Linked DNA regions of Homo sapiens: all the other regions are linked to region 1. The links are contacts of gene promoters, found by promoter capture Hi-C in blood cells and fetal thymus (Javierre and others, 2016). All regions are on one chromosome and are shown on one strand. The core of a region is centred on a gene start or on the middle of the fragment in contact, and the rest is flanking DNA. Distances in the headings are between cores, read along the strand shown.

Evidence for each region. Contacts are between HindIII fragments. The CHiCAGO score rates a contact against its expected background, and 5 or more counts as called.
Region 2: a contact is called between a fragment that was not itself captured here and the fragment with the promoter of ZFP69 in region 1, in 1 of 17 cell types (neutrophils). The highest score is 5.3, in neutrophils.
Region 3: a contact is called between a fragment that was not itself captured here and the fragment with the promoter of ZFP69 in region 1, in 9 of 17 cell types (naive CD8 T cells, total B cells, total CD4 T cells and 6 more). The highest score is 7.6, in naive CD8 T cells.
Region 4: a contact is called between a fragment that was not itself captured here and the fragment with the promoter of ZFP69 in region 1, in 4 of 17 cell types (total CD8 T cells, naive CD8 T cells, total CD4 T cells and 1 more). The highest score is 5.9, in total CD8 T cells.
Region 5: a fragment that was not itself captured here is called in contact with the fragment with the promoter of ZFP69 in region 1 in 7 of 17 cell types (naive CD8 T cells, total B cells, total CD8 T cells and 4 more); the score reaches 7.8 in naive CD8 T cells.
Region 6: a fragment that was not itself captured here is called in contact with the fragment with the promoter of ZFP69 in region 1 in 12 of 17 cell types (erythroblasts, naive B cells, total B cells and 9 more); the score reaches 8.3 in erythroblasts.
Region 7: a fragment that was not itself captured here is called in contact with the fragment with the promoter of ZFP69 in region 1 in 4 of 17 cell types (total B cells, naive B cells, naive CD8 T cells and 1 more); the score reaches 6.6 in total B cells.

What each region holds. Positions count from the first base shown.
Region 1 is chr1:40,475,267-40,478,901 of GRCh38, forward strand. ZFP69 (ZFP69 zinc finger protein) reads left to right here and starts at 2,024. Exons shown (of 6, transcript NM_001320179.2): 1 at 2,024-2,628. RefSeq lists a silencer at 1,763-2,232. The HindIII fragment of the contact is 9,111 bases long and covers 1-2,711 here.
Region 2 is chr1:39,991,984-39,995,367 of GRCh38, forward strand. No RefSeq gene overlaps it. Among named protein-coding and RNA genes, the nearest start is that of MFSD2A, 39 kb to the left of the region's middle. The HindIII fragment of the contact is 3,629 bases long and covers 166-3,384 here.
Region 3 is chr1:40,137,338-40,140,901 of GRCh38, forward strand. No RefSeq gene overlaps it. Among named protein-coding and RNA genes, the nearest start is that of RLF, 22 kb to the right of the region's middle. The HindIII fragment of the contact is 6,332 bases long and covers 1-3,564 here.
Region 4 is chr1:40,100,792-40,104,460 of GRCh38, forward strand. No RefSeq gene overlaps it. Among named protein-coding and RNA genes, the nearest start is that of PPT1, 5.4 kb to the left of the region's middle. The HindIII fragment of the contact is 4,302 bases long and covers 1-3,669 here.
Region 5 is chr1:40,084,307-40,087,803 of GRCh38, forward strand. All of the region lies in intron 5 of PPT1 (palmitoyl-protein thioesterase 1), which reads right to left. Among named protein-coding and RNA genes, the nearest start is that of PPT1, 11 kb to the right of the region's middle. RefSeq lists an enhancer at 391-685. The HindIII fragment of the contact is 3,424 bases long and covers 84-3,497 here.
Region 6 is chr1:40,117,051-40,120,518 of GRCh38, forward strand. No RefSeq gene overlaps it. Among named protein-coding and RNA genes, the nearest start is that of PPT1, 22 kb to the left of the region's middle. The HindIII fragment of the contact is 3,880 bases long and covers 4-3,468 here.
Region 7 is chr1:40,060,766-40,064,246 of GRCh38, forward strand. It overlaps CAP1 (cyclase associated actin cytoskeleton regulatory protein 1), which reads left to right. Exons shown (of 13, transcript NM_006367.4): 4 at 970-1,047; 5 at 3,462-3,481. Among named protein-coding and RNA genes, the nearest start is that of CAP1, 22 kb to the left of the region's middle. The HindIII fragment of the contact is 3,835 bases long and covers 1-3,465 here.

The sequences.
Region 1 (3,635 bases), core at 774-3,273:
CTTTTATTTATCCCACTAGAGAGTTATATGGCATCTTATATCTGTGACCTGGTTCCTTTCATAGGTACTAAAAATATTCAGCCCTTATTTCTTCAAATACTGTCTCTGCCCTAGCTTTATCTCTCGTTAAACTTAGTTCGATCCTCTTACTGTATTCTCTATCTCTCTTACTCTGTCTTCTGTAGGGTACATTTTTTGTTTCTCAATGCTTTATTCTAGATAATTTCTTGTGACCTACCTTCCTTTCAATTTATTCTACATTCAGCAGTGTCTAATCTGCCATTAACTGAGTTCTTAATTTAGTTACTGTATTTCTCAATCATAGAAGAGAAGTCTATTTACTTCTTTTTTTAAATCTGCTCTATCACTTTGTATAGTTTTTAGGTACCTGCCAAAATTGTCCAAGTTATCTTTTTTATTTCTTCAGGCAAAGAAAATATGATTTTATTTTACTTTTTTTCCTAAAAACTCTAATAGGTAAGCAAGAAAATATACATATGTTTTAAGCCAGGGTCTTGCTCTGTCACCCAGGCTGAAGGGCAGTGGTATGATCGTGACTTACTGCAGCATCAACCTGCTGGGCTCAAGCGATCCTCCCATCTCAGCCTCTTGAAGAGCTGGGACTTCAGGGCTGTGCCACCATACCTGGCTAATTTTTGATATTTTGTAGAGACAGGGTTTTGCCATGTTGCCCAGGCTGGTCTTGAACTCCCGAGCTCAAGCAATCCACCTGCCTTGGCCTCCCAAAGTGCTGGGATTATAGACATAAACCACTGTGTCCAGCCCAAGAAAATATTATTTTGCGGTTTGCATCAAATAATTCTAAAAGCAGTTGTTTCTGCAGGTCTATTTCCAATGTTTGTGTTTCTGCTGGTTCTCACTAAGAATCTAGTTTCTTTGTGTACCTGGTTATCTTTAATTCTGTATTTGACATTGTCTATGAAAACTTATGTGTAGGAAAAATGTCGGCCCTACAATTATAAGGCTTTCCTCCACCTATTTGCTTTTGCCAAGCATCTGGTGACACCATAGTCAGAGACAGTCTTAAACCAAGATAATGTCTGAGACAGGCAATTTGATGCAGTCTGTAAATTCCTTTTAAGCTGTTCCATTTTCAATTCATCCTCACCCTGAGGCTGTTGCCCTTTGGGGTCCCAGTTATTGTAAGGAGGGTCTTCTTCTTCTTCTTCTTTTTTTTTTTTTTTTGAGATGGAGTTTTGCTCTTGTCGCTCAGGCATGGAGAAACCCCATCTCTACTAAAAATACAAAATTACAGGCATGGTGATGCGTGCCTGTAATCCCAGCTACTCTGGAGGCTGAGGCAGGAGAATCACTTGAACCCGGGAGGCAGAGGTTGCGGTGAGCCAACATCGCGCCACTGCACTCCAGCTTGGGCAACAAGAGCGAAACTCCGTCTCAAAAACAAATTTATATATTATATATATATGTATATATATATACACATACACACACACACACACACACACGTATTCCAGAATTTTATTTTTAAATTTTATTGTTGTTTTCTACAGTGGGTTGATACAAATATCCTAGCCCATCATCTCCCCACCCTGCTTTCCTTTTCTTCATGGTCCTCACAATCGCCTGGGGTATTATCTATTTATTTTTCTATTTGTTATTGTCAATTAATTTCAATGTAATTAAGTTCCAAGAAAGCAGGAACTGCGTTTTGTTAACTGCTGTATACGCAGGGCCAATAAGAATGTGGGGGTAGATCTTACACACTCAGAATAGATAACTGAATGAATGAATGAATGAATGAGTGAATGAATGAATGACAGGGAAGGCGCTTCACCGGAAAGGCTGAAGGAGGTCTCCCAAGGACCGCTGTGAGGAAACGGGGGGCGGCGTGGGTGGGTGGCCGCTACCCACGGTTCCGGACGGCCCTCGGGGGCGCGCTCGGGCGGCTTCCAGCTTCCGGGTTCGAGGGCGCGCGCTGCTTCCCGGGAGAGGGCGGGCTCCGTGGCAGCCCCCTGTGGGCGGAGCCGGCGGCCGGGGCTCACAACCCGCCGGAAGACGCGCGGGTTGTGGCAGCTGCAGCGGGACCGCGTGGGGTGGGCCCCGGGACCGCCAGGGCTGCAGCGAGAGCGGCCGGCGGTGCAAGCGGCCGGGAGGGCGCGGCCGGAGGCAGAGGCCAGGCGAGACACCCGGCTGCGGCCTAAGAGGCCAGGCTGGGTGGGCTTGGCTGCAGCCGCCAGCCCCGTGTTAAAGCGGCAGCCAGGGAGGTGTATCCTCCCCGGGGTCTGCAAGACGCCGGCTCAGGGCATCCCTCCCATTCCGGCCCTCAAAGCCTCGCTCCTGGGGGCGCTGCTGGGAAAGCCCACCCGCCTGGGCGGGCCCTTGATGGGAATGTGGAGCAGACCCTCGTCCACTCCGGAGGCCGAGGGTCCTCCGGGCTTCCGAAGGAAGCCGACCTCAACGCTGGACGCTTCTTGGAGAATGATTGCGTTGAGTGGAGATGTGGTCTGTCTATAAAAGGCCGGGAGGGAACAATATCTGTTACCACTCAGTCCGTCTCTAAAGAGACACTCTTTACCGCTGAAAACCTCAAGAGTGAGCACTCCCACGCCCCCGTCTCTGGTCCTACCTGGGTCCAAGGCCGATGTGGTGAGTAGGAGTCTGTGTGCAGTCTTTGAGTCCGAGGGTGGCATGTCTGGGAGCACTGTGAGGGTGGGGCATCTTCGATATGAAGCTTCTCAGCCATTAACTGTTTCCCGAGTAAGATTCGAAAATTCGTGCACTTTGGTAACAAGACTTTTTATGTATTCAGGGGTGGGATATTTCTCACAAGCTCCAATTCCTAGAACACACGCAGCTCCTGTCTCTGCATATAGTCACACACACACACACACACACACACACGCCTATAAGTCACATACCCATCCTTCTCCAACAAACTTCAAAAAGTTGGGCCAGCTCCCTTCCCACGTAGCTCCGACTGTTCTTGGAGTGCCGTATACTTTGGACCTGGTCACGGTCAAAGCACCTGCTCAGATTCTAGGGTTTGGTTGAGATGATGGATTTGAGTTGTTTCCAAATTTGCCTATTACTATTCTGCAGTAGTCCTCATTATACTAAATTTACACCATTTGAAGACATACCCTCTTCCCCAATTTTAACATTTCTGAAACCAAGATGCATCTTCCCAGTGTGGTTCCAAGGAACTTGCCAGCTGCTGGGCATCTGCGTGGGTGGTGACGTGGCTGTCACTGCTTGTTCATGCCAAAATGCAGCTATGTCATTATTCTGTCAGTTGAGATATTTTGAACTTTAAATTCAGATTTAATGGTTTCTAAAAATAACTTTAAAAATTAATACTATGATTCAGCAATATGATAACAGGTTTATAACAATGTTCATTAAGGGTTTACTGTATGCCTAGCATTGTCTCAACCAACATTACAACTCTATAGAATACAATTATTATCTCCATTTTATAGATTAAGAAACTGAAGCTGAGAGTTGAAGTGTCATAGAGCTTTTAAGTGCAAGTGTCAGGTTTCTAAGCCAGGCTGTCTGATTTCAAAGCCTGCCCTCTTAAACCCCGTCTGTGTCCAGGCAGAAGATGCATGCAGCTTACAAGGAGGGAAGATGAGGCATGGTCTGTGCATGTT
Region 2 (3,384 bases), core at 730-3,229, 480 kb before region 1:
AGAAGAATTATCTTGGACCACATGTAAAATATACTAACACTAATGATAGCTGATGAGCTAAAAAAAAACAAACTCATAATGTTTTAAGAAAGTTTACAAATTTGTGTTGGGGCACATTCAAAGCCATCCTGGGCTGCATGTGGCCCGTGGGCCACGGGATGGACAAGCTTGGTGTATACCATACCAGATTGTTGGCATCTCTGCCTCATTCTCACTTCCTCCTGTGCTTTCTCCTATGTTTTGGGAGCTAGAAGCCTCGGAACTATATTTCTTAGCCTCCCTAGACAGGATTCTAGCCTGTATGCTGCAAATGAGAGGTGCTTATGTGAAATTTGGATGGCAGAAGGACAGGAGAGGCCATTATAATTCTATTGGTGGTGAGTAGGCCTAGGGCTTCAGCAGATAGAGGATGAGAGATTGGGGTGCAGCTTCCAGACATCCTCCTGTGAATCACCCACTTTGATGCCTTTGGCAGATGAGATCACTTTGTGGTGGTTTCTTGTGATTTCTGTATTTCCTCATTTCCTAAATATTAGCAGATATATATTTTTTTGCTACAGGATTCTTTGCAAAATACTTCTCAAAATCGAATATTATCACTACTAAGCCTTCTTCCTCTTCATCAATTACATAGGTGTGGAAGCCCCACTGGACAGGCCAAGTTGGAATAGCCTGGTTCCCCAACCAGAAGTAGAGGCATGGAGCAGTTTTCTTTTCTTTCTTTTCTTTTTTTTTTTTTTTTAGACAGAGTATTTGCTCATATTGCCCAGGCTGGAGTGCAATGGCGCGATCTTGGCTCACCACAACCTCTGCCTCCCGGGTTCAAGCGATTCTCCTTCCTCAGCCTCCTGAGTAGCTGGGATTACAGGCATGTGACACCACGCCCAGCTAATTTTGTATTTTTAGTAGAGACAGGGTTTCTCCATGTTGGTCAGGCTGGTCTTGAACTCCCGACCTCAGGTGATCTGCCCGCCTTGGCCTCCCAAAGTGCTGGTATTATAGGTGTGAGCCACCGCACCTGGCCCGGAGCAGTTTTCATAACACCCTCTGGGCTTAGGTTTTCACACTCTTCCCAAGGAAACTGCAACAGGTGGTTGGTTGCAGGACATACAGGGTGACGGAACAAGCATTGAACTTAGGATCAGGAGACCTTAGTTCCAGGACCTACTATGTAATTGCTACATCAAGAGCAACACCTTTGACTTGTTGGGTCTTGGCCATGTGACCTGATACAGAAATACAGACTTTTACAACTATGTATATTTTCCTCTTTTCTTTTCTTTCTTTCTTTTTTTTTTTTTTTCCGAGATGGAGTTTTGCTTTTGTTGCCCAGGCTGGAGTGCCGTGGCACAATCTCGGCTCTCTGCAACCTCCGCCTCCCGGGTTCAAGTGATTCTCCTGCCTCAGCCTCCCAAGTAGCTGGGATTACAGGCATGCACCACAACACCCAGCTAATTTTTTATTTTTAGTAGAGATAGGGTTTCTCTCCATGTTGGCCAGGCTGGTCTTGAACTCCTGACCTCAGGTGATCTGCCTGCCTTGGCCTCCTAAAGTGTTGGGATTACAGGTGTGAGCCACTGTGCCCGGCCTATTTTCCTCTTTTCTTTGTTATGTATATGTTTGCATATATTAACCAAAATTTTGCCTCTCCTTTTCTTCACTACCTTATACAGGAATTATTGGTAGTGGTTAACTTTGTGACATATGAAATAGCAAGGAGGAGAAAACAAATGTGGATAATAGATAACATTTACATACTGCCTTCTATGTTTGAGTCATTATTCTGAGACAGATCCACTCATTTAACCATCATAAAAACTGTATGAGAAAGCTACTATTCAGTATTATATTCCTGTCTTTTTTTTTTTTTTCTGAGATGGAGTCTTGCTCTGTCACCCAGGCTCGAGTGCAATGGTGCGATCTTGGCTCACTGCAACCTCCGCCTCTCAGTTCAAGCAATTCTCCTGTCTCAGCCTCCTGAGTAGCTGGGATTACAGGCACGCGCCACCACACCTGGCTAATTTTTGTATTTTTAGTAGAGACGGGGTTTCACCATGTTAGTCAGGCTGGTCTCGAACTCCTGACCTCATGATCCGCCTGCCTCAGCCCCCTCCAAAGTGCTGGGATTACAGGCATGAGCCACTGCATCCGGCCTATATTCCTGTTTTATAGTTGGGGAAACAGATACTGATAAACTTACCCTGCTCACCCAAGCAGTCTATGTCCTCATTGGGGCTTTTAATTGTTAATCTAGCCAGGCATGGTGGCTCACGCCTGTAATCTCAGCACTTTGGGAGGCCAAGGCAGGTGGGTCATTTGAGGTCAGGAGTTCGAGACTAGCCTAGCCAACATGGTGAAACCCCATCTCTACTAAAAATACAAAAACTTAGCTGGGCGTGGTGGCACGCACCTGTAATCCCAGCTACTCGGAGGCTGAGATAGGAGAATAGCTTGAACCCGTGGGAAGGAGGTTTCAGTGAACCGAGATCATGGCACTGCACTCCAGCCTGGGTGACAAAGTGAGACTCCGTCTCAAAAAAAAAAAATCATTAATCTATATGGCCTCTTGTTACATGAAAACATGTGATAAATTGGTATTGACTTATAGTTTGGAAATGACTGATTTGGGATGTATTGCTCTCTATTCCAAGTTCTGTGACTCCCCAAATGAAGTAGAAACCCAGTGGGACCGGGAACTAAAGATATCAGGAATCCCGTTGTATTTCCTCCTCTCATAAGTGGCTCTTCCTCTGTCTGCACACCACCGCTCAGCTGCTCGTTCCACATGGCAGGTAGAAGAGGCCAGCCCACAGCTCCCAAGTATGTATCTCCTCCGTTCAACCTTCCCAGATTGAATTGGATACTCCTGATTCTAATTACAGATTTGTGTGTGTGTGTGTGTGTGTGTGTGTGTGTGTGTGAGAGAGAGAGAGAGAGAGAGACATCACAAGAGTGAGAGTGATATTGCTGGTCCAATCCCTGTGGCAGAGTCATCAAACACACACTTGGTATGTAGGACTGCCCACCTGGGAGTGAAGCGGGCAGACACCTCAGGAGGTGGGTGTTTTGGGTATTTTAACTCTGTTTGATCGTAGAAGTATTTAGGTCCTATACCATTGTTTTCACCCGCTGAGGGACAGTAATATGTCTCTCCTGAAGGGAAAACATCTTTCTACTCCAGGCTCGGTGGCTAGCTCAGCTATAGCAGAAATGCTCTACCATACTAGCAGCCTGAAGTCCTGGGATTAACTTACAGTTCACAAGGTACCGGCTGTGTGACTTCAGGCAATTTATATAACCTCCCTGAGTCTCTGTGTACTGATTTCGGAAGAATCAGAAAATGCAAACAATTGCAACTAGAAAAAGAAAACCACACTCTTGGCT
Region 3 (3,564 bases), core at 562-3,061, 340 kb before region 1:
AGCAATTTGGGAGGCCGAGGCGGGCGGATCACCTGAGGTTGGGAGTTCAAGACCAGCCTGACCAACATAGAGAAACCCTGTCTCTGCTAAAAATACAAAATTTAGCCAGGTGTGGTGGTGGGCGCCTGTAATCCCAGTTACTCAGGAGGCTGAGATGGGAGAATCGCTTGAGCCTGGGAGGCGGAGGTTGCAGTGAGCTGAGATCGTGCCATTGCACTCCAGCCCGGGCAACAAGAGTGAAACTGTCTCAAAAAACAAACAAACAATGCTCTAAAGGACACAATCAGGGTAAAAAGGCAACCCACAGAATGAGAGAAAATAATTGCACTCCTATATCTGATAAGGGGTTAATATCCAGAATATACAGAGAGTTCTCACAGCAAAACAAACAACCCAATTAAAAATTGGGCAAATAAGCTGGGCACAGTGGCTCACGCCTGTAATTCCAGCACTTTGGGAGGTTGAGGCAGGAGGATCATGAGGTCAGGAGATCGAGACCATCCTGGCTAGCACAGTGAAACTTTGTCTCTACTAAAAATGCAAAAAAATTAACCAGGCATGGTGACGTGCACCTGTAATCCCAGCTACATGGGAGGCTGAGGCAGGAGAATTGCTTGAACTGGGAGGTGGAGGTTGCAGTGAGCTGAGATCACACCACTGCACTCCAGCCTGGGCAACAGAGCAAGACTCCGTCGCAAAAAAAAAAAACAAAAAAAACAAAAAGGGCAAAGAGCTTGAATAGTTATTTCTCCAAAGAAGATATGCACATGGCCAAAAAGCACATGCAAAGATGTTTGACATCACTAATCATTAGGGAAACGCAAATCAAAACAACGAGCTACAATCTCATACGCATTAGGATGGCCACTATCAAAAATATGAAGAAAATAACAAGTTTTGGTGAGGATGTGGAGAAATCAGAATCCTTGTGTACTGTTGATGGGAATGAAAAATGGTGCAGCTGTTGGCTGGGCGCGGTGGCTCACACCTGTAATTCCGGCACTTTGGGAGGCCAAGGCGGGTGGATCACCTGAGGTCAGGAGTTTGAAACCAGCCTGGTCAACATGGTGAAACCCCATCTCTACTAAAAATACAAAAATTAGCTGGTCGTGGTGGCGGGTGCCTGTAATCCCAGCTACTCGGGAGGCTGAGGCAGGAGAATCACTTGAACCCGGGAGGCGGAGGTTGCAGTGAGCCAGCATCACGCCATTGTACTCCAGCCTGGGCAACAAGAGCAAAACTCTGTCTCAAAAAAAAAAAAAAAAAAAAAGAAAGAAAAGAAAAGAAAAGAGAGAAAAATGGTGCAGCTGCTATGGAAAACAGTATGGCAGTTCCTCAAAAAATTAAACATAAAATTTTCATATGATCCAGCACTGATACTTCTGGGTATATATCCAAAAGAATTGAAGGCAAGGTCTTGAAGAGTTATTTGTACACCCATGTTCAGAGCAGCATTATTCACAATAGCTGAAACATGGAAGCAACCCAAATGTCCATCAACAGATGAATGGATAAGCAAAATAGGATATATCCATACAATGGAATATTATTCCACCTTAAAAAGGAAGGAAATCCTGACATATGCTATACCATGGATGTAGCACCTTGACAACATTACGCTAAGCCAGTCACAAAAAGACAAATACTGTATGATTCCACCTATATCAGGTACTTAGTAGTCAAATTTATAGACAGAAAGTTGAATAGTGGTTGTTAGGGGCTGGGGAGAAGGGAAATGGGGAGTTGTTTAATGGGTATAGAGTTTTAGATTGCAAGATAAGAGTTTTGGAGATTGGTTGCACAACAATGCAGATGTACTTAACACTATTGAACTATATGCTTAAAAACGGACAGGTTGGTAAATTTTATTTTATGTATATTTTGCCACAATTAAAAAATGGTTTTGAATAATTTCACACTTAGAAAAGATTTGCAAGATTAGTACAGAGAATCCTGAAGAATCTCCACCAGAGGCATTTTATCATATTTGCCTCCTTATCTCTTTATTTCTCTCTCTCTCTTTCCATATATATATACACACACACACACACACACACACACACACACACACACACATAAATATACACGAATTTACACCTAGTAGTTTTAGCATCCATTAATGATTCTTGCCTGGATTATTACTATAATGGCCACCAAATAGAGATTTTCCTATGTCCATTGTTTCTTCTACATTTATTACTTGAATTCTATAGTAAAGTATCATTTCCTTTCCCGTATCCTCTTTTTTTTTTTTTTTTTTTTTTGAGACCAAGTCTTGCTCTGTTGCCCAGGCTGCAGTGTAGTGGCGAGATCTTGGCTCACTACAACCTCCGCCATCCAGATTCAAAAGATTCTCATGCCTCAGTCTCCTGAGTAGCTGCGACTACAGGTGCACGCTGCCACACCCAGCTAATTTTTGTAATTTTAGTAGAAATGGGATTTCACCATGCTGGCCAGGCTGGTCTCAAACTCCTGACCTTAAGTGATCTGCCTGCCTCAGCCTCCCAAAGTGCTGTGATTACAGGCATGAGCCACTGGACCTGGTCTCCTGTATCCTTTTTAATTAATTTTTTATTTATATTAGTGTGGGCTTAAGGATTCCCAATTTATTCAATAAGTTATAATTCCTTACAATCATAATTTACTTTGATGACTAGATTGTCCCTGATTTGGCCAGTGGGAGCCTCTTTACACTGGCTCCTGTGTTCTTTTGACATTTCTCATCTGTATTAGTTTGCTATGCCTGCTGTAACAGTGTACCACAAACTCGGTGGCTTAAAACAGCTGCAGTTCTCATGGTTCTGAAGTCCAGACATTCAAAATCAACTTCACTGGGCCCAAATCAGGAATATTAACACGGCCATGCTTCCTCTGGGCTCTAGGGGAGAATTCGTTCCTTGCCTCTCCCAGCTTCCAGCTGGCACTTGGCTTGTGGCTGCACCACTCCAGTCTCTGCCTCCTGCCTTCTCCTTTTGCGTAATCTCTCTCTGCCTCTCTCTTACAAGGATACTTGTGTTTGCATTTAAAGTCCACTTGAATAATCCAAGACAATCTCCCCATCTCAAGTTCCTTGATCATATCTCTAAAGATCCTTTTTCTGTATATGATAATATTTACAGATTCCAGAGATTAGAGCTTCAGGGGCCATTACTTAGCTTACTACATCCTCATTCTTTGAATACTTCCTTTCTTCCTGAACCAGTAAGATTTTTCACTGCCCTAGTCATGAAATCAGCCATTTCTCTAAGAACTTTTGGTTTCTTTTTAGTGAAGAATGATACTTGGAAGTCAAGATGTAGATGCTAGGTGCACTCATTGCTATGGGTGTGTCGGTCTTGCAAGTCCTTTCAGTAGGACAAGGAAACAAGATATCAACTAGGAAAAATATGTCTGGACACACACACACACAATCATACGTATGATGTACATTCCGAAGTACTGTAGTGGAGTTGGCTCATATGGACTTGCAAAAGCTGCTTGTTAAATATTCAGGAACTTTGCGGGTGGCTGTGAAACTAGTATTATTTCATGCTGGGAGTATTTACACCGTGGAAATCAGCAAAT
Region 4 (3,669 bases), core at 546-3,045, 370 kb before region 1:
AATCATTGGTTTGTACACATAAAATGGGTGACTTTTATGGCATGTGGAATATATTTCAATAAAGCTGTTCTTTTTTTAAAGAAGACATCTGTGTATTTATATATTTGTACATTATCACTGAAAGGTCAAAGCATTGCCAAGAAAAAAGAGGCTGGGTGCGGTGGCTCACGCCTGTAATCCCAGCACTTTGGGAGGCTGAGGCGGGTGGATCACGAGGTCAGGAGATCGAGACCATCCTGGCTAACACGGTGAAACCCCGTCTCTACTAAAAAATACAAAAAATTAGCCGGGCGTGGTGGCAGGCACCTGTAGTCCCAGCTACTCGGGAGGCTGAGGCAGGAGAATGGTGTGAGCCCGGGAGGCGGAGCTTGCAGTGAGCCAAGATCGAGCCACTGCACTCCAGCCTGGGCGACAGAGCGAGACCCCATCTTAAAAAAAAAAAAAAGAAAGAAAGAAAAAAGAAAGAAAATAAATATTTAAAAAGATCTGGAGACCGTTAAAAGTAATATTCTTGAGGGCAGTATTACAAGGAACTTTCACTTTTTACTTTATATACTTGTGTTTGGTTTGAAATTTTACAGCAAGGATATACAATTTTTATAATAAAAATGGAAAATATACACACATTAAAAATTATTAGACTTCTAGATTAAGAAAATGGAGTAAAGCTATCTCACAGACTCTGTTTCAACCAATATCTAGGAAAGTTTAAAAAGTTAAAATTGTATCCACGGCAAAAAAACGTCAGTATCTTAAATGTCAGTAAGTGGTGGTCAAGGAAATAAATAGAAGATTCTGGGCTGGAGCATGTCAAGGCTTCCAGTTCTGCCTTCATTCCATCAAAACTCATACAATTAGATCCACAAAATCCTGACAATTAACACAAACATATCCACATACATTACAAGAGAGAAGAAAAGTAAACGCTTTCCTTCTCTTTCCCCTCCCATCTCTGGAAAATTGAAAATGGCTACTGGGGAGAAAAACTTGAAATGGGAAGTATGGAATAGACCAAATCTTTAAGATGGCAGTGAAGACTCAGGAAAACATGCTGAACTGAGAGAAGTTCCAAAAAGTGAAGCTATCTTTTCCATGGAAATGGACTACACCAGCCATTAGTGGGGTGAACTTTGGAATAGACACTTAACAAAACCTCAGAAGTGATTGCAGAACTTAGGTATTCTAACAAAGGCTGCACATGAGCAGCCCTCTCCCCTCTTCAGACAAGCATAAAAATCATAGAAAAACTGCATACTGCATAAAATAACACTCTTCTAACTGCAGTTCAGTAGGAAAAACAAATAAGTTTCAAATAAAGTGGAAAGCAATTCTGGAGACAAATAGAAAAACAAAAAACTTCACCCCAAGTGCTTTGAGCTGTAGAACAATTTATTAAGAAAATGACCTCAGGTCAGGTGTGGTGGCTAACACTTACGTAATCCTAGTGCTTTGTGAGGTCAAGGTGAATGGATTGCTTGAGGCCAGGAGTTTAAGACCAGTCTGGGCAACATAGCAACACCTTGTCTCTACAAGAATAAAAAAATTTAACCAGGCATGGTGCTGGGCACCTGTAATCCTAGCTACTTGGGACCCTGAGGCAGGAGAATTTCTTGAGCCCAGGAGTTCAAGGTTACAGTGAGCTATGATTGTGCCACTGTACTCCAGCCTGGGCAACAGAGCAAGACCTTGTCTCTAAAAAAAAGACAAGAAAATGAGCTCAATAGAATAAGAACTCAAAACCAAGATAATAAAACAACGGAAGGAGATGAATAGGGAAGTTGCACATTTGAGAATCCAAAGACTAATAAATACCTGAAAACAAGGAACCAAATAGACATGGCTAGGAGTGGAATTAGTTTTTTCTTTTCTTTTTTAAAGACTTTTACACTCCTAGAAATGGAACTATTGATATGGAAAATGGTTTTAAATAATCAAAATAATGGTAGATGAAAACACAAAGATATTAAAACAATCAGATAGAAATCTATAGATATGGAAGACAGAAGTTATTGGTGTCCCTGAAATTGAGAACTCATTAAATGGAACAGAAGTATTCAAAAATATAAAAACAAAAGTTTGCCCCAAAATGAAGTACTAATCTACAGCTTGAAAGGTCAAGACAGAAAGCACTTTGATACAGAATATTCTGTCCTGAAAAATATTGTAATTAACTTATTGAACTTCAGATAACCAGGCAGAAAAAGTAGAATGCCTACAAGGAAAAAAACTCAGGCTATCCTTACATTTCTCAACAGCAACATTCCAGAGACAGAAGCCAATGGAGCACTGGCTACGGAATTCTGAAAGAACAAAAGTATGATCCAAGAATATTATACCCAGCCAAGATGTCATTTGGAAATAAAGATACTAGGCAGATTCCCACAAATACAAAAGAATGCATAGGAAAGAGCTCTCTCTGGCCAGGCATGGTGGCTCACGCCTGTAATCCCAGGACTTTGGGAGGACGAGGCAGGCAGATTGCCTGAGGTTGGGAGTTTGAGACCAGCCTGACCAACATGGAGAAACCCCATCTCTACTAAAAATACAAAATTAACCGGGCATGGTGACACATGCCTGTGATCCCAGATACTCAGGAGGCTGAGCAGGATAATCGCTTGAACCCGGGAGGCGGAGGTTGTGGTGAGCCAAGATCACACCATTGCACTCCAGCCTGGGCAACGAGAGTGAAATTCCATCTCAAAAAAAAAAAAAAAGCTCTTTCAAATTCTTCTTGAGAAAATGCTTGAAAGTGAAATTCAGCCAATTAAGAAATAGGGCAAAATTAAGACTTCAATAATTAAGAAGTCTTGGGAAAAGGATTTGTGATGATCATTGAATCTGTTTAAATACAGAATTAATACTGAATACCTGTGTGAATCATTGCTTTATACCATGTACATATTATATGAATTAACAATGTAAAATAGTATGACTAAGAAATATTGGGCCCTGTGGAGGGAGGTAATGGAAGATAGTATAGTACGAGTGCACTCTCCTTGGGCTTACAATAGATTCTAATTTAAAACGTATTCTTAAAAAACCAGACCTGGGCAGTTGCCCATGCCTGTAATCCCAGCAACTAGGGAAGCTGTAGCAGGAGGATTTGCTTGAGCTCAGGAGTTCAAGACCAGCATGGGCAATATTGCAAGACCCCATTCCTAAAAAATTAGCTGGGTGTAGTGGCGCATACCTGTGGTCCCAGCTACTTGGGAGGCTGAGGTGGGAGGAGTTCAAGGCTGCAATGCCACTGCATTGCTGTCTGGATGACAGAGCACGACCCTGTCTCATAAAATTAAATTTAAATTAAATAAAATTAAATAAACTTCAAATAAACAAAACAACATAATGTCAAAGTCACTTTTCCTAACCCTTATTTGAAGTCCAGATTTTAAAATTTCTTTTTATACTTGTTCCTTTTTTCCTTTTTATTCCTTTAAGTTTATTTAATTCAAGTAAACTTGAATTTTTGAATCTTTAACTCAATTAACTTAAATTAGAATTCAGGATTAACAGAATTCAATTAACTTTAACTCAATTCTGTTAAATTCAAGTAAACTTGAATTTAATACTTTTTATTTTTTAATAACACACCTTATGATACAATTTTTTAAAGTACCTATGTCTATATACCTATTTATCTATCATTCTATCCATATAAAAGCATAAAAA
Region 5 (3,497 bases), core at 546-3,045, 390 kb before region 1:
TCTTGAGATGGAATCTACTCCTGGTGAAGATGCTGTGAACACTGATGAAACGACAACAAAGGATTTAGAATAAATATTACATAAGCTTACATAAAAGCAGCGGCAGGGTTTGAGGATTGACTCCAGTTCTGAAAGATGTTCTATTGTGGCCAAAATGCTACCAAATAGCATCGCATGCTACAAAGAAATCTTTCATGAAAGGAAGAGTCAACTGATACAAAGTTCATCATTGTCTCACTTTAAGAAATTAGCACAGCCACCCCAATGTGGGCAGCAGGCCACCCAGGTGCCGAGGCAAGAGACCGAGGGCATGAGCTGTTCCGGTATAATAAAATATATAAAACAACAAGAGTTATCCTAGACCTAGATCATAAACATGATTATATATGAATACCATTCATCATTAGTTTGTAGCAATTATTCTTTATTCCAATATTATAATAATCCTTGCCCTACAATCATAACCTAGGAAAAGCCAGGCCATACAGAGATAGGAGCTGAAGGGACATGCTCAGAAGTGACCAGAAGACAATAGTGTGAGCCCTCTGTCATGCCCGGACAGGGCCACTAGAGGGCTCCTTGGTCTAGCGGTAATGCCAGCGTCTGGGAAGATGTCCGTTGCCAAGCGGACCGTGGTCTAGTGGTAGCGTCAGTGCCAAGGAAAAACACCCACTACTTAGCAGACTGGGAAAGGGAGTCTCCCTTTCCCCGGGGGAGTTTAGAGAAGCCTCTACTCCTCCACCTCTTGTGGAGGGCGTGACATCAGTCAGGCCCGCCTGCAGTTATCCGGAGGCCCAACCATCTCCCTGTGATGCTGTGCTTCAGTGGTCATGTTCCTAGCCTGCTTTCATGTTCCATCCTGTACACCTGGCTCTGCCTTTTAGATAGCAGTAGCAAAATTAGTGAAAGTACTAAAAGTCTCTGATATGCAGAAATAATGGCCTAAGCTGTCTTTCTCTCTCTCTCTCCCCACCTCGGCTGCCAAACAGGGAAGGGCCCCCTGTCCAGTGGACACGTGACCCATGTGACTTTACCTATCATGGGAGATGGCTCACACTCCTTACCCTGCCCCCCTTGTCTTGTATCCAATAAATATCAGCGCAGCCTGGCATTCGGGGCCGCTACCAGTCTCCACGTCTTGGTGGTAGTGGTCCCCCGGGCCCAGCTGTCTTTTATCTCTTTGTCTTGTGTCTTTATTTCTACAATCTCTCATCTCCGCACACAGGGAGAAAAACCCACCGACCCTGTGGGGCTGGACCCTACATCCCAACCTTCAGCAACCACCACCCTGATCAGTCAGCAGCCATCAACACCGAGGCAAGACCCTCCACCAGCAAAAAGATGACTTGCTGAAGACTCAAATGATTAGCATTTTTTAGCAATAAAGTATTTTCTAATTAAGGCATGTACTTTTTTTAGGCATGATGCTACTGCACACTTAATAGACTTCAGTATAGTGTAAACATAGCTTTTATATGCGCTGGGAAACCAACAACTTTGTGTGACTTGCTGTATTAACAATATTTGCTTTATTGTGGTGGTCTAGAACCAAATCCTCAGTTTCTCTGAGGTATGCCTGTAGTTCGTTACATTACTCTCTAACTTTTTTGAATGGCTGAAAGTCTCTGAGAGAGCCTGAGTAGATGCCTTAATATTTCCAGAAAACCAAGTTGCAAGTTCATCGGCTGAGGGCAAAGACATGGGAAAACTGGACAATTGAGGAAAAGCACTCTGAGATCCACTGAGGGTGGGGTGCAAACTGGGAGCGGGGCCCAGAGCAGACCTGGGGAAGGCAAGTTGCTATGAAAATTAAACAGGATATGTAAAGCTCTAGCTTCCTCTGAGCTGGTACGGGGGAAGACGGAGGCCAAGGCCAGGGCAACACTGAAGCATTCATTGTGGCAGGGAGTGTAGAGGTAGGAGGGTAGAGCGTGGGGCAGGGGATGGCAGGGAGCAAACCGGAGGAAGGAGAAGGCTAGGAAGGGCTGACAGCATCTGCAAAGGCAAAAGGGAACTAGAGGGTAGTTTTACATCCAGGAAGGAGAGAGAGAACTATTATACCATTCCTCGTTGCCCTCACCATGCCAAGCCGGGGGCTTCCCCACCAGTTACTGTGCGTATTAGGATATCACGTTTGCTTTGCTAAGGTTAAGTTATCTGAAGAATGTGGAAGACATCTTTTGGGGTCTCTGCCTCTCTTGCACTCTTCCTGCCCGGCCTACTGGTTTACAGGGAGGTGGGGTATGGTTAGTAAGCACGGTCCCACTTCTCTGGCCACAGCTAATGAGAGCAGAGGGGGAGACCTGACCTGAGCTGGGGCATGGTCCCTTCCTGAAGAATCTGAATCGGGACAAAGAGAGTCTAGCCTCAGACTGAGACAATCTCCTAACAGAAAATTAAACATTTGGAAGCCGTGCGAGGCCACCTTCCATCATGTGGGTGGCAGGGGAAGCTGGTCTGCATGGAGAGAAAGAAGCAGCGACACAGAGAGAGAAGCAACAATGGCACTGGAGAGAGAATACCCTGGCTCCTCATGGCTCCCAATTCTTGATTCTAGGCCCTATGAGGCTTTAGGCACCAACAGAGTATTACTTTCTTTTAAAATTTACTTTGGCTTGATATGGGTTTCTTCTTGCAACCAGAATTAATCCTCCCTAATACCAGGGGCAACCTGGGACAGTATCACAAAGACAAAATGATTTCTCTTTATTACTTTAAGCCTTCACCATCTGCTCTGCTAAAACAGTTCTCACACTCATTCATCTGCTTGCTTGCTTTCAAAAACATGTTGCCATTTTTTATGATCTCTTACCTCCTCTCTCCCTGTTCTCTCTGCCCTTGTGGGTTTATCACTTTTTATTCTTCTGCTACCACTTAATTAAAGTTTAAGGAGGAAGTGAAGATAAACACATCAATCTATAGCTTTTAATCAGTATTTTTTATTTTTATTTTTTGAGACAGAGTCTCACTCTGTCATCTAGGTTGGGGTGCAGTGGTGCGATCTCAGCTCACTGCAACCTCCGCCTTCTGGGTGCAAGCAATTCTCTAGCCTCAGCCTCCGGAGTGGCTGAGACTACAGGTGTGCACCACCACGCCTGCCTAATTTTTGTATTTTTAGTAGAGATGGGGTTTTGCCATGTTGGCCAGGCTGGTCTTGAACTCCAGGCCTCAAGTGATCTGCCTACCAAGGCCTCCCAAAGTGCTGGGATAACAGGCATGAGCCACTGCGCCCCGCCTTAATCAGTATTTAGGTGTCACTTGTCACCCCCCGACGGACTGCTCACTTAGCATCACTAACAGAATTCTGATCGCCAAGGGTTGTTTTGGTTCACACAAAGAAAGAAAAGTATAGGCGTTTTGGAGGCAACTGGGCAAGAGTGAGAATAAAGAGTAAAGGAAGAAGAATGAAGTTTAAATACCATGCAAATCCATGAGAACAGAGAATATGTAGAATATAAATAATTAAGTTGTAATTAGCCACAGCCAATCAAACCAGG
Region 6 (3,468 bases), core at 694-3,193, 360 kb before region 1:
CAAAGCTTCTAATCTTATCTTGATCTTTCTGGTGACCAGTACTCACCCAGAAGTCTATCAAGAGTCACCTCATTAGAACAAAAAATGCTCCTATCCCTAGGGAATTCCAAGTAATTTAGGAACTCTGTGTCAGACACTCCTATCACTCTGAAAATTACAAAAGTCTAAGGAGATTTGTGTTAGGAACTGGGTCAAAGATCGAATACTAGAAGAAAAGATTCTCCTAGCACCCCTATCAGCAAGGGTATTAGGAACTCTGTCTCATGAACTGGGGCAGAGACATATTTCTTATTTCTTAATGGTTTTTATTTATTATTATTTCACAGATGGCTACTATTAAAACAACACAGAAAATAAGTGTTGGTGAGGATGTGGATAAACGGTAACCCTCGTACATTGTTGGTGAGGATGTAAAATGGTATAGCTGCTGGATAAAACAGTATGGTGGTTCCTCAGAAAATTAAAAATAGAATTACTATATGATCCGCATTTCCATTTCTGGATATATACTCAAACAATTGAAAGCAGGGTCTTGAAGAAATGTTTGAACACCCATGTTCACAGCAGTATTATTCACAATAGCCAAAATGTGGAAACAACCTAAGTGTTCATCGAAGAATGAATAGGTTAACAAATGTGGTCTATGCATACAATGAAATATTATTCTGTCTTCTTGCTCTACTTGTTTCTCCTGTTCCTAACCTCTAAAGGTAGAGTGTCACCCCTTAGTCCTGCGGTCTCTTCTCTGTTTATACTTACTCCCTAGATAATGTCCTCTGGCGCCATGACTTTAAAAACAATAGCGGTGGCTCACACCTGTAATTTCAGCACTTTGGGAGGCTGAGGCAGGCAGATCACCTGAGGTCAGGAGTTCGAGACCAGCCTGGCCAACATGGTGAAACTCCATCTATACTAAAAATACAAAAATTAGCCAGGCGTGGAGGCAGGCGCCTGTAATCCCAGCTACTCGAGAGGCTGAGGCAGGAGAATCGCATGAACCCAGGAGGTGGAGGTTGCAGTGAGCCAAGATCATGCCACTGCACTCCAGCCTGGGTGACAGAGTGAGACTCCTTCTAAAAAAAAAGAAGAAGAAAACCAAATATCTTTATGATGATCTCCAAGGCCCTTAAGTCCTTAACTACATCCACACCCCCAGCCTTATGTCTCTGGTTGCATCCCTCACCTGGCCACCCCTCATTCACTGAGCTCTAGCACACTGGCCTCCTGCTTCTATGAGGCCACCAGGTCGACTCCCACCTCAAGACATCTGCTGTTCCTTCTGCCTGAACTGCTCTTCCTCCAAGTATTTGCGTGTTTTTCACCCTCACTTCATTCTGATATCTGTTCGAAGGTCACCTCCTTAGAGCTTTCCCCAAGCAATATATAGTCATCCCTCAGTATCCGTGGGGAATTGGTTCTAGGATCTCCTCTGATACCAAAGTCCAAGGAGCTGAAGTCACTCACATAAAATGGCATAGTATTTGCATGTAACCTATACACATCCTCCCATATGCTTTAAATCATTTCTAGATTTCTTATAATACCTAATATAATGGAAATGCTGTGTAAATAGTTGTTATACTATATTGCTTGGGGAGTAATGACAAGAAAAAAAAGTCCATACATATTCAGTACAGACAAAACCACGCTCTTTTTTTCCCCAAATATTTTCCATACCCGGTTGGTTGAATCTGCTGATAGAGAACCTGCAGATATGGAGGGCCAGTTGTATATGCTCCTATCACTCTTGATCCTCTTTACCATTTCGTTTTCCACCTAACATTATATTATATATCCATTTGTTTATGACCTGCTTTGTAAGTGACATAAAGAACTTGTCTTATTTAATACTATATTCCTGACAACTAAAACAATTCAGAGCAGAAGCACACAACCAAGAGTTGTTGAGAGAATAAATGATCGAATGGATGGGTCTTAGATAAAGGTAGAAGATGGCTCTGCTTTTGAACACTCCAGGATGAGGGGATGTTACTCTCTCATTGCCCACCTATAGTTTCTCCTACGCTTAGTGCTGGCCTAAACCATGCTGTGTCCCTTTAATATTCAAAAGGTTCGTGCTTAGGGTGGGACCAACAAAATGGGTATAACCATGTATTGACTACTCCTTTAGGAGCTAGCACAGAGGAGCTCTCTGTCGCCCTGTGAAAGCACTGACTTGCCTGAGTGAGTCTATTGCCTCATCTGATAGTGGGATTGTGGGTGCTGCTGGCTGATACCCCAATTCTTCCTATTTGTCTTTGGCAAGCCCAACTTTTCTGACACCATCTTCTGCTCAATTCCAAAACCATTGTCAGGCTCTTCAACTCTGCTGTGCCCCAGGGTCTCAGGTGCCTGAATATCTAATTCATGGCCTCAAAAAACCTAACGAAAAGTATAAACTTATCTGCAGACCTCAAGGCAGCATCTGGTTAACCACCCTCTGAAAACAGAAAGAGGATGATTCCAAACCCCACACTGTGGCCTTGGAAGCCCTACAGAGTCTGTTCCTACCTATCTCTCCAAACTCATCTCAGGCCCCTCTCCTCTTTGCTTACAAAATTCTAGCCAAAATGATCTTCTTTCTGTTTCTGAAATACCCCAGGCTTATTCCCATTTCATGGTGATGCAAGGCAGACAAGCCCCAAAATTGGGGCTTAGCCCAGGAGGGTTTTGTCTTTGCCAGGAAATAATTCAAGGGCGAGCTAGTGGTGTTAGCAACTTTTATTGAAGTGGCCGTGTACAGCTGCAGCAGCAGCAGTAGTATTGCTCCTTGAGGAGCAGGGCTACGCCATAGGCAGTGTGCCCACAGTAGCAGCTCAGTGGCAGTTCTGGAGTAGTCGTTATACTGACTTTTAATTATATGTAAATTAAGGGGAATATTATGCAGAATTTTCTAGAAAAAATGTCGTCAGGTCATTGCCATGGAAAGGGTGGTAACTGGCCAGGCATGGTGGCTCACACCTGTAATCCCAGCACTTTGGGAGGCTGAGGCAGGCAGATCACAAGGTCAGGAGTTCAAGACCAGCCTGCCCAATATGGTGAAACCCCGTCTCTACTAAAAATACAAAAATTAGCCAGGCATGGTGGCACATGCCTGTAGTCTCAGCTACTCAGGACGGTGAGGCAGGAGAATCATTTGAACCCGGGAAGAGGAGGTTACAGTGAGCCAAGATTGTGCCACTGCACTCCAGCCGGGGTGACAGAGCGAGACTCCATCTCAAAAAAAAAAAAGGAAAGAAAAAAGAAAGAAAAGAAAGAGCAGTAACTTCGGGCGTTGCCATGGAAATGGTAAACTGACATGGCACACTAGTGGGAGTGTCTTACAGAGAGGTGCTTTGGACTTTTCCCTGTTTTAGCTATTTCTCTATCTGGTCCGAGGTTCAAGCCCTGCCTCTGGAGATGAGTTTCACATCCTACCTCAATGGCATTTACAGTTGCCTCACCTTCTTCCTGAGACATTCTGTACCC
Region 7 (3,481 bases), core at 298-2,797, 410 kb before region 1:
GCTTGGGAACTTCTTCACCTAAACCTTTCTCGAAGACTGGTTGCTTGGCTTTTGGAAAATCTATTTTGAGCCTCTCAAATACCATCTGTTGCCAATGGTTTTAGCTCTAGAGAGTGGGACTGGGACTTTAATAAGGGTGTGGAGGCTTGCATTTTTACTTAATACAGTTCTGTAACATTTGAAAAAACTTTAAAACATTTATCATTTGTATTTTAAAAATGCAAATCCAGAAAAAATAGATTGCTTTCTTTGAATTTTTGTATTTTAATAGTGCTTACAGTCTCATGTTTCTTAAATTCTTTTGACTGCGAATGACCCTTAGAAAGAAAGAACATATTCGTAACTGAGATAAAAGTTTCACAAGATGATATTTATACTACTTCTGCTGTACTTTTTTTTTTTTTAACTTTTTATTTGGAAATAACTTGAAGTTGGTGCACTGCACTCATACTTTTGTTCCATTAAGCTCACTAAATTGATTTAATTATTTATTAATGGGTCATGGTATCTGGCATTTGAGAGATAGCTTTAATCTAAAGGAGTAAATACCTTGAGAATTTTCAGCAGAAATTTAGGCCTTTGCCTTTACTCCTGTCTCCAATTTTTGAGAAAAGAAAGGTGTTTTTTTGGTTGCTGTTTGTTTTATTTTGCTGATGTGAAATAGGAAGGATTTTTCAGTGCACGGTATCACAATGCATGTGTAAGATGCTAACATGACTTCATGTAAGCTAGGTGATTATCCAATTAACTTCACTTCCAACTCTGGATATATATCCCTGATGAGTTCCAATAGGAACAGTAGTGTATGTAATTCTGCTCTCAGTCCCTGGAATCTGGAATACATGAGGAGGATAACATGAAGTGCCTGGGTTGCTATCAGAGTACATGGAAGTAGAGGTTTCAGGTTATTCTTATCAAGACTTCTCTAGTTATAATGTGTCATCAATAGCTGATTCTTCTTTCTGGCAGGCGGAGATGGTCCACACAGGTTTGAAGTTGGAGCGAGCTCTGTTGGTTACAGCTTCTCAGTGTCAACAGCCAGCAGAAGTAAGTTCACTACTAGCTGGTTTCATTTTGGTTTGATGCTCAGGACGAGTTGAGAGATTTATGTCAAGCTATTATAACATTTTAAAATAGACCTACTAGGCTTTTGATAATATATGTTCATACCAAGTCCCAGAGGTAGAGCCATACTTCAAGTGCCTTAATGGGAAGGTACTATTGGGTACTTAATGGTCTCTACTGGCTTTTTCTCTGTCATTTTGCATAGGACTGTGGTTATCCCTGGGACTTTGCTTGCCTGCCTCTTTGCTGAGTCCACATTCATCATAGTGTCTCCAAAGCCCTTTAAAGATGATTCTCTTGCTTCACTGTGGATGGGCTTTAGTAGTGCTCCTGTGGAGATCTTAAAACTCCTACAGTATTGCTTCTCTCCTCATCCTTCACTGGTTGGGAGACTCTCTCTTTAATTTTACTCCCACCTCAAAATTTTATGGTGCAAGATGTGAAAAGTTGAATTAGAGAAAATTTAGATTTCTCTTGGAGTCAAAGAATATAGGTTTCCTTCTTTTGCATTTGGTTTTCCTAGTTACAGAGGAATAATAAAGCAAGTTGTCCTAAATGCTGTATTAAAACCCTTGACCCTCAGCATGCCTAGATAATATAAAAATAGTGCAAGATAATGTCAAATATATTAGATTCTGGTTAAGTGTGCTGGCTCATTCCTGTAATCCCAGCACTTTGGGAGGCTGAGGCAGGAGGATCACTTGAGGCCAGGAGTTTGAGACCAGCCTGGGCAACATAGCAAGACCTCGTCTCTATTAAAAATTAAAAAAATAAAATAAATAAAAATAGCCAGGCAAGGTGGTGCATGCGTATAGTCCCAGCTACTTGAGAGGCTGAAATGGGAGGAAGATTTGGGCCTGAAAGTTTGAGGATGCAGTGAGCCATGAACACACCACTGCACTCCAGCCTGGGCGACAGAGCAAGACCTTCTCTCAAAAAACATTGTGTGTGTGTGTGTGTGTGTGTGTATAGATGCCATCTAATTCTAATATGTAGAATTAGATTTTAATTCTTAATCTGTCCTGAATGGTTAAGATCTGAGAATTGAGATGTTCAGGAAATGGAGCTTTGGAGGAAGGGTGCAAACACAAACAAAATTCATCCATTTTGCCAAGGTGCCTACTTGAATGCTAAGCCCCTAATTGTTTTTTATTTTATTTATGTTTAAAAAAAAATTTTTTTTTTGAGACAGGGTGTTGTTTTGTCACCCAGACTGGAGGGTAGTGGTGCAATCACAGCTCACTGAAGCCTTGACCTCCCAGGTGTAATGATCCTCCCACCTCAGCCTCCTGAGTAGCCTTGACTACAGTGTGCACCACCATGCCTGGCTTGCTTATTTACTTACTTATTTATTTATTTATTTCTGAGATGGAGTTTCTCTCTGTCGCCCAGGCTGGAGTGCAGTGGCAGGATCTCGGCTCACTGAAACCTCCACCTCCCAGGCTCAAGTGATTCTCCCACCTCAGCCTCCTGAATAGCTGGGACTACAGGCATGCGCCACCATGCCCAGCTGATTTTTGTATTTTTATAGAGATGGGGTTTCCCCATGTTGCCCAGGCTGATCTTAAACTCCTGGACTCAAGCGATCTGCCCACCTTGGCCTCCCAAAGTGCTGGGATTACAGGCGTGAGCCACCATGCCTGGCCCTAATTCTTTTTATTATTTGTAGAGACAAAGTTGTGCTGTGTTGTTCAGTCTGTCTTGAACTCCTGGTCTCAAGCAGTTCTCCTGCCTTGGCCTCCCAAAGTGCTGGGATTACAGGCGTGGGTCACCATGCCCAGACTAAGCCCCCTAATTGCATTTGATTCATCAGTTCTTTACAGCAGCTACTATATGGCTGGCAATGCATTGGGGGCTTTCATGATGATAAAAGAGCTCGTCTTTGAAGAATTAATGAGAAAGTAAAACATATTCACATGGGTCCATTAATAGTTTGTATTGGTGAGTGATAAAATGCCAAGATTGGTTATGCTGACAACAAATGCTGTAGGAGGCTGGTGTGGCTGGGTTGGAGGGCCCTCATGAAGCATGAGGAAAATTTGGATTCATGGGAAAAAAAGAGAACATCATGAGTAAGGCACAGGAATGATGTCCTGAGTGTATGTCCTCTGAGTGGAACAAAAAAGAGACAGGTGGCTGAAATGGAGGTTCTGTGGTATAGCTGAAGTATGGGTCCTGATCATGAAGAACCATCAGGTGCAGCCTGAGGAGTTGGAACTCTACGAGGAGAGTGAGATGATGAGCAGTATTTTAGCCTTAGGAATCAGGACAGGACTCATGCAGTTTATTTGGGTGCTCACTAGAGTCCATAGAGAATTCTTGCCTTCAGGATCAGAAGGCATAGACACCTTTGTGGAAAGATGTTAACCTGAATCTTTTCTTGTATCTTTTCCTAGAATAAGCTTTCCGATTTGTT